Linked DNA regions of Homo sapiens: regions 1 and 2 are each linked to region 3. The links are contacts of gene promoters, found by promoter capture Hi-C in blood cells and fetal thymus (Javierre and others, 2016). All regions are on one chromosome and are shown on one strand. The core of a region is centred on a gene start or on the middle of the fragment in contact, and the rest is flanking DNA. Distances in the headings are between cores, read along the strand shown.

Evidence for each region. Contacts are between HindIII fragments. The CHiCAGO score rates a contact against its expected background, and 5 or more counts as called.
Region 1: a fragment that was not itself captured here is called in contact with the fragment with the promoter of EBP in region 3 in 1 of 17 cell types (non-activated CD4 T cells); the score reaches 5.4 in non-activated CD4 T cells.
Region 2: a fragment that was not itself captured here is called in contact with the fragment with the promoter of EBP in region 3 in 1 of 17 cell types (neutrophils); the score reaches 5.3 in neutrophils.

What each region holds. Positions count from the first base shown.
Region 1 is chrX:47,234,597-47,237,296 of GRCh38, forward strand. The region is part of intron 1 of USP11 (ubiquitin specific peptidase 11); the gene reads left to right. Among named protein-coding and RNA genes, the nearest start is that of USP11, 2.9 kb to the left of the region's middle. The HindIII fragment of the contact is 1,279 bases long and covers 642-1,920 here.
Region 2 is chrX:47,199,137-47,201,836 of GRCh38, forward strand. It overlaps UBA1 (ubiquitin like modifier activating enzyme 1), which reads left to right. Exons shown (of 26, transcript NM_003334.4): 4 at 73-241; 5 at 344-478; 6 at 1,758-1,864; 7 at 2,140-2,230; 8 at 2,342-2,474. Among named protein-coding and RNA genes, the nearest start is that of INE1, 4.4 kb to the right of the region's middle. RefSeq lists an enhancer at 1-257. The HindIII fragment of the contact is 8,151 bases long and covers 1-2,700 here.
Region 3 is chrX:48,520,558-48,523,295 of GRCh38, forward strand. EBP (EBP cholestenol delta-isomerase) reads left to right here and starts at 1,251. Exons shown (of 5, transcript NM_006579.3): 1 at 1,251-1,350. PORCN (porcupine O-acyltransferase) reads left to right here. Exons shown (of 15, transcript NM_203475.3): 15 at 1-251. RefSeq lists silencers at 92-151, 1,066-1,295, 1,356-1,535. The HindIII fragment of the contact is 9,622 bases long and covers 1-2,065 here.

The DNA of each region.
Region 1 (2,700 bases), core at 31-2,530, 1.3 Mb before region 3:
GGCGAGGGGAAATAAAATTGGGGAGATGTTGGTCAAAGGATACAACATTTCAGTTAGACAAGAAAAATAAGTTCAGATCTATTGTACAACTATAGTTAATAAATTCATTGTATACTTGAAAATTACTGAGAGAAGATTTTACATGTTCTACCACCCCCCAAAAAATAAGTATGTGACGTAATGGATGTGTTAATTGCCTTGACTTAGTCATTCCACAATGTATACATAAGTCAAAACTTCATGCTGTACACTCTAAATATATGCAATTTTTGTCCATTTTAAAATAAATAAAAATACCAAAAAATGCATGTAAAGAAACAACGATTGAGCAAATGAGTAAAATATTAGATTTGGAGAATCTGGATGAAGGACATATGGGGATTCTCTGTATTATTTTTGCCATTTTTCTCAATCTATTTCAAAGTTTAAAAATTAAATAATAAATAAAAACGTGTGAATTCACCATCCATGTTAAGATTCAGAACACTGTCTTAAGAAATCCTTCTGTGCCCCTCCCAGATGGAAATTCCCCTCCTTGCTCCATGGGAAACTGTTATCCTGAATTTTGAGTTAACAGTCTCTTCCTTTTCTTTAATGTTTTACCACAGCTGTATGCATCCCTAAGCGGTATGTATTGTCTAAGCTTTCACTTTATACATATATGGAATACATATATATAAAATTCTACTGGATGCATACTGTGAGCCCTTATCTTCGCATCGGGTAATACATGGTATCCACATGGCATCATTGGTGATGTTAACCTTGATCACTTGGTTATGGTAGTGTTGGCCAGCTTTCTCAACTGTAAAGGTACCATTTTCCTCTTTACATATGCAGTAATTATTTTTAAAACATGTATCATGTCCAGCCATTCCTCAAAATACTCTTAACAGCTTCCCATCTCTTGCAGCGTAGATGCTAAAATCCTTACAATGAATTGCAAGCCTTTATGAAGCTGGTCTCCTGCTTGCATTCTGATGTCTTCCCATATCTCTCCTCTGATTACGCACTCCCTCCCTGTCTCCATCCAGGCCGGCCATATTGGACTCTTGCTGTTCCTCAAACACATCTAACCTTAGGGCTTTTTCGAGTGAGGTTTACTCACTACAGAGTTCTTTAATAACCACACCAGTGAAATGTGTATCTCTGTTACTGGGGAGATGAGTTGAGATTTTCCAAATCGGGAATACAAACCCAAGCCGTGTTTTTCTGCCATTACGTCACACTTTTCCAGCAAGAAAAAGCCTCATTTCATCCTGAGAATAAACAAAATAACCACAGTGTTTTGTAACTCATTTGAAGATGTTCAAAAGGGCCTTGAGGCTTTGATCCTTGCCTCTTCCTACCTTTGTAGCCTTGTGATTGTGTCACTGGTAGGACATGACATCCTGTCATCCTTGATAATACGCTTTAAAATTACCCCACCAGTACTGGGTTTTCTTTTGGGATGATGAAATATTTTGGAACTAGGGAGAGGTTGTGGTTGTACAACATTGTGAATGTTCTAAATGCCGCTGAATTGTTCACTTTAAGATGGTTAATGTTATGTTATGTGAATTTCACCTCATTAAAAAAATTACCACACCAGTGTTGGTTCAGTGTTGAAGCCGGTTTGTCTCTGCTGTCATGGGTATTATCATGAAGCATTTTTGCTAAACTCCACTTTGTTAATGCTTCTCTAGTAAGAGCAAAGCATCTCAAGGTTCTTTATTGCTGTCCATTTTCCATTTTACAGGGGTTTGCTTAAGTGGCCAGGATATATGTGTTTATAAAGCATTTTGAAGTCATGGACTAACCCCAAATCATATATCTTGTATCAGTATTAATATTTGCACCTTCTGTCTTTTGTCAGCTGGCAGATTTGGGTGAGGGTAGTTAATTAATTTGGTCATCACAACTGATTTAATTTCTGGGAGAAGCTTGTATTTTAAGGCAAATTCAAATCTGTAATAATATAGCCTCCTTGGAAATTTTCACTTTTTCCTTTTGTGGGATGAACCATCTTCAAACACAAATCAGACACAAGAGAAAACTAGAAGACAGAAAATAAAGAATTGTTTAGCAACTTTTTTCCATAAGCACATATTTCATATCATTTCAACAAATTTGAGGAAGCACGAATAAACCTAAGTGACTTTAGCAAGATCAGTTGTACCTGTATATACTGGCAGCAAGAAACTAGAAAATTAAAATTTATGATACCATTTATGATAGCATCCAAAAAATTGAATACCCAGCTGTAAATATAATAATTTGGGTGTTATTGATACAGACCATGACACCTTTGTTGTGACTGCCACCTGGCCTGACAGAGATTGTGAGACATCCTGATTTCAGAGATGTTAACAATGATTTTTTTAAAGTGTCTTTGACTTGAAGCAATATGGTAATAATTTTCTGTGAAAAATTATGTAAAATGTCAGTCCTCTATGAAATCTATAGAAGTTCAGCCTGTGACCAGGTCTGGAAGTTTTGCTTACCACTCTACAGCGTGATTTTAATGTTATTTTTTGTTCAAAATCTGCTCTTAAAAAGAAGTTGAGCAGTGCCTACCTTTGCATTGGAAGGTACTGTTAACTATAGCTTTACTGAACAAATTAACTTCATAGACTGGCTATGGAGGCAAGTAAAGCCACAAAGGGTGGATGGTGGTGTGTGGGGTGCAGGGTTGGGTCTGAGCATTGAGCCACCGGCACA
Region 2 (2,700 bases), core at 7-2,506, 1.3 Mb before region 3:
GTGGAATGGGACATTGAGAGGATAAGGTTGGGTGGGGCAGGCCCTGACCTAGAGTACCCCCTAACCTGGCAGGTATGTGTTGGGCCATGAGGCAATGAAGCGGCTCCAGACATCCAGTGTCCTGGTATCAGGCCTGCGGGGCCTGGGCGTGGAGATCGCTAAGAACATCATCCTTGGTGGGGTCAAGGCTGTTACCCTACATGACCAGGGCACTGCCCAGTGGGCTGATCTTTCCTCCCAGGTACCTCTTCCTAGCACCCTTCCCCCTTTCCCCCTTCCCGAGGCACCACTGTTCCCGGTGCCACAGCCATTTCATCTTTTTCCCTACTGCACACCCTTACAGTTCTACCTGCGGGAGGAGGACATCGGTAAAAACCGGGCCGAGGTATCACAGCCCCGCCTCGCTGAGCTCAACAGCTATGTGCCTGTCACTGCCTACACTGGACCCCTCGTTGAGGACTTCCTTAGTGGTTTCCAGGTATCTTGGGGGTACTACCCAGCCTTCTGCCCAGTTTTCTCAGAGCCCATCTCTGGTTTATTCAGTAGTGTTCAATATTGATTTAATGGGTCGGCCTGAATGTCAGGTTTTGTGCTGGGGGACTAGAGTATGCAGGCAGCAGTTAGCCCCTGGCCCTGCCTTTTCTTTTCTTCTTTTTTTTTTTTTGAGACGGAGTCTTGCTCTGTCGCCCAAGCTAGAGTGCAGTGGCGCGATCTCGGCTCACTGCAAGCTACACCTCCTGGGTTCACGCCATTCTCCTGCCTCAGCCTCCCGAGTAGCTGGGACTACAGGCGCCTGCCACCACGCCCGGCTAATTTTTTTTTGTATTTTTAGTAGAGACGGGGTTTCACTGTGTTAGCCAGGGTGGTCTCGATCTCCTGACCTTGTGATCCGCCCGCCTCCGCCTCCCAAAGTGCTGGGATTACAGGTGTGAGCCACCGCACCCGGCCTGGCCCCGCCTTTTCAAGTGGGGAAGATGTGTACAGACAGTACAGCATAGTGGTTGTGGGCACAGACTGTAGAGCCATACTGCCTTGCTGCAGGCCTCCAGCCTTGGTAGTGTGACTTCAAGCAGGTTGTTTCATCTCCTGTACCTTTGTTTTCCTGTTTGTAGTCAGTGCGTGGTAGCAGCACTGACTTCATGGACTTTTTGTGAGGGTTAAACACGTGGAATTGCAGCTGGCATATAAGGACTGGATGGGTGTTTGTTAATTAAAAAGTCCAGGCCGGAAAGAGGTGCTCTGGAAGCTGAGAGTTGTCCCTGGAGTATCCCAGGTTGCCAGGGCACTGCAGCTAAATCCTGATGGAGGAGTAGGAGCTCACCCTGGTGGGGAAGGATGGACATTCAGGCAGAGAGCAAAATCCCAAAGATCATGGCGGAGCAGGCGTCGTCTTGAGAATTGGAAGCAGGTGGGTGTGGTAGGAGTGAGCTCAGACTTTGGCTGGAGACAGAGTTTTACTCCAGTGTCTCACAGGGCATGGCAGACAGACAGCAGCGGGTGTTTGTCAAATAAATGAGTCAGCTCTTCTCCAAACTCCCTCCTCCCAGCTACCTCTTCACCTTTCCTGGTATAGTCCAGGGGTTCATTTTCGACCCCCACAGAGTCTGATACACAGTAGGTGCTATGTGTTTGTGAAAGAGGCTGACCCAGCAAAGCCTGGATGTGTTTGCCTTGAGGACTGCCTGAGTCCTCCACACCAGCCCTCCATTTTTTCCCCTTCACCCCAATGCTGGGCCTGAGCCTCCATCTCTCCACAGGTGGTGGTGCTCACCAACACCCCCCTGGAGGACCAGCTGCGAGTGGGTGAGTTCTGTCACAACCGTGGCATCAAGCTGGTGGTGGCAGACACGCGGGGCCTGTTTGGGTGAGTGGCAGCCCACCTCCCTCCCTGTCCCCTTTTCCCCCAACTCCTACCAAGCCCAGGCCAAGACTCTAGGCTCTCCCTGCCCTCATCCCTTCTCAGCTACCCAGGTTTTGGGTTCTGTGTTTTCATCTCTCCCCATGTGGCACAAGTACCATCTTACATCCCAGCAGTGATAGGCTGAGTTTGCTCAGCAAGTTTTCACTACATCTTGAGGGACCCGTGGGACCTGTATGTGCATGGGACACAGGCACCAGCCCTATTGCTTCCCTCTACAGGCAGCTCTTCTGTGACTTTGGAGAGGAAATGATCCTCACAGATTCCAATGGGGAGCAGCCACTCAGTGCTATGGTTTCTATGGTTACCAAGGTAAGGAGACCAGCCCTAGGGTTCCTGGCAGGCAGGTGGGCTGCAGTAGTCCTTCCTGTCTGCTCTTGGTACCCTGGGCCTGTTTCTGAGACTCACTCTTCCTTTAACCAGGACAACCCCGGTGTGGTTACCTGCCTGGATGAGGCCCGACACGGGTTTGAGAGCGGGGACTTTGTCTCCTTTTCAGAAGTACAGGGCATGGTTGAACTCAACGGAAATCAGCCCATGGAGATCAAAGTCCTGGGTGAGCTGCGACCATGGGGGAAGCAGAGGGGAACTAGAAGATATGTTCCTGGGTTCTGGCCGGGGAGTTGAAGGGAGAAGACATGGCCCTTGGTTCAGAGTTGGGAAGACACATCCTGGTGTTTGAGATGAACTACAGACAATCCTGTGGGGTCCAATAAGAGCTGGTGGGCATGGGGGAGAGGTACTGTGTTTGAGCTATTCCTGGGAGAATGTGTCCCTGGTAT
Region 3 (2,738 bases), core at 1-2,500:
TACTCCTTGACCCCCTCCATCCTTGACCCCCAACACCTCAACACACACACACACACACACACACAAAATCACACCATTTTCATGCCTGTCAATCCCCACCCCACCACAAGGCAGGAAGGGGGTGGTGCCTGCTGGGGCCTAGAGGGGGATGCTTGGGGAAACAGAGAAGGGGAGATCCAGGGCCTCCCCGCCTTCCTTCTTCCTTTTTATATACAATTTGTTATTGTCAAATAAAAGTAGGAAATATTCAATAGGCTTCTTCTTCACTGCTCAGAGGGGAATAGGAATGAGTGAGGAAGGGAGCACAGCATGGATAAAGGTTTGGAAGCTGGAAACCATGAAGAGAGAGCAGACTGTGATTGGTTCATGGTTAGTTTATGATTGATTAGATGATGAGCCTGAAGATGGCAGGATCCTGGTCCTGCTTGGTTTGATCAGGGCAGGGACAGATTGCATAGTTGGATGTGGGGGAGGCCTGATTGGCTGGAAAACTGAAGGATCCCCATTCTGATTGGTTGCTCTGAGTGGGACACAGAGGAGAGAAAGCAAGAGAGATGAAGGGTTGGTGCCTATTTATCCTTAGGACTGAGGGTTGTGGGTTCTAATTGGATGGGAGGTCTGGGATGGGTCTGGATTCTGATTGATTGCTCCATCTGGGGGCCCACTGGTGGTTAGGCGTTTGATTGGCTTTTTAGAACTGGCATATGGAGATTGAGGGTCTTCATGCCAATTGGTCAGTAGGACTGAGAGGCCTGGGTTCTAACTAGTTCTTCTGACTTGAGGTCGGGAGAAGAGAGAATGACCGCTGCTATTAGGACTGAGGAGTTCTGAGCACTGAAGAGCTGGGGAGGGGGTGGTTGCAGTGTATAGCGTGTGATCTGCTTGTAACAGTTTCGTTGCATTATACTAAGGGTTACTCTACCTAGAAAAGGGCGGAGGTGAAAGGATGCAACGCAACGCTAATTTCACCAGCGGAAGAAGCGGGTACAGACCTTAATGAGTCCCCGTTTTGATCGACTGATAAGGGAATGGGGAAATTGAAGCCAGGACTCGATGCAGATTGGCTACGGATCCAAAACGCCCACTAACCTTGGCGCGTCCCAGTCTCCACCCCAAACCTAACTCAGGTGAAAATGGCGCCACGCGCGGGGGCGGGGCTAGAGGTACAAAGAGAGTGTCTATTGGTTGGGAGCGGCACGGGCCGCCTTCTTCGCTTCACCATTGGCTCGCTCCGTAAGGCAAGAGAACCCACTAGGGGATGAGCCCGAACTAGGGATGTGACAGAGCGCGAGACCCAGCCTAAAGAGAGCCCGGAGCCAGCGTGGGAGGCCGCTGCCGTCGCGCGCCTTGGTGAGTGCCCTCCACCCGGCCCCTGCTCCCTCCCCCAGCTCTCCCCGGCTACGCGGCCAGCCCTCGGCGTGCCAGCGCGAGACCCTTTGCCACCCGCCCCCCCCACCGCCCTTTTGCGCCTGCGCGAGACCCCCAGCTACCGCACGGTTGTCCAGAGGACAGAAGATCCGTCTTCTCATTGGGCAGCGGGACTGGAGGGTTCTGGTTCGGATTGACCGGCTTTGTGTTCCGTTCTAGCGCTGCACGCCAGACACCGGCCTTTCAATATCCGTCTCTTCCCTGCAGGTTGACGGCGTTGCACGCTCTCGCGGGGAGGCTCTGGCTTTCCAAACGCTGGCACCGAGGGTTGTAGTTCTGATTCGTTTTCTTTCCTCTGTCCCCCAGTTGCAGTTTTCAGGACTACGTGGGGGAGGGAATAGCTTTTTGTTGAACGGTTTAAGACGCTGACCTGTGCAACTGGACCACGCCTGGTTCCTGTGTCTCTTACCAAACCGTGACCCCGGAGCACAGGACTGGGTTTGGTGGTCGTGAGCAGTTTGTGACCCTTGAAGGAAGACACCAGGCCTGGTCCTGTATCTCCCTCGCCAGACTGTGACCAGGGAGGGCTGGGATCAGGTGTTGTTCCCATGTGCCTCCCACCAGACTTTGACCCCCGAGGGCTGAGACCGGGACTGTTTCTACCACATCATAATATGGCTTCTAAAGGGCTGGAACAAGCTTTCAGCCTTTCTGTGGCCTTGTGTTTCAGTCATGTTCTTTTTCTTTTCTTTTTTATTTTATTTTGAGACAGAGTCTCGCTCTGTTGCCCAGGCTGGAGTGCAGTGGCATGACCCCGGCTCACTGCAGCCTCTGCCTCCCAGGTTCAAGCGATTCTCCTGCCTCAGCCTCCTGAGTAGCTGTAACTACAGGCGCACGCCACCACACCTGGCTAATTTTTGTATTTTTAGTAGAGACGGGGTTTTGCCATGTTGGCCGGGCTGGTCTTGAACTCCTGAGCTCAAGTGGTCCACTCGTCTTGGCCTCCCAAAGTGCTGGGATTACAGGCGTGAGCCACCGCGCCCGGCCTTCTTTTTTAGAGGCAGAGTCTCAGACTGGAGGGCAGTGATGTGGTCACTGCTCACTTCAGCCTTGAAGTCCTGGGCTCAAAGCGATCCTCCTGCCTCAGCCTACCTACTAGCTGGGACTACAGGCCTTTGTCACCACACCTGACTGATTTTCTTATTTTTTTAGAGACAGTTTCGCTGTGTTGCCCAGGCCGGACTTGAATTCCTGGCCTCAGGTGCTGCTCCTGCATCAGCCTCCCAAAGCACTGGAATTACCTGCCACGGTGCCTGGCCTTTAGTCATGGTCTTAAAACAGAATGTAGGCCGGGCGCAGTGGCTCACGCC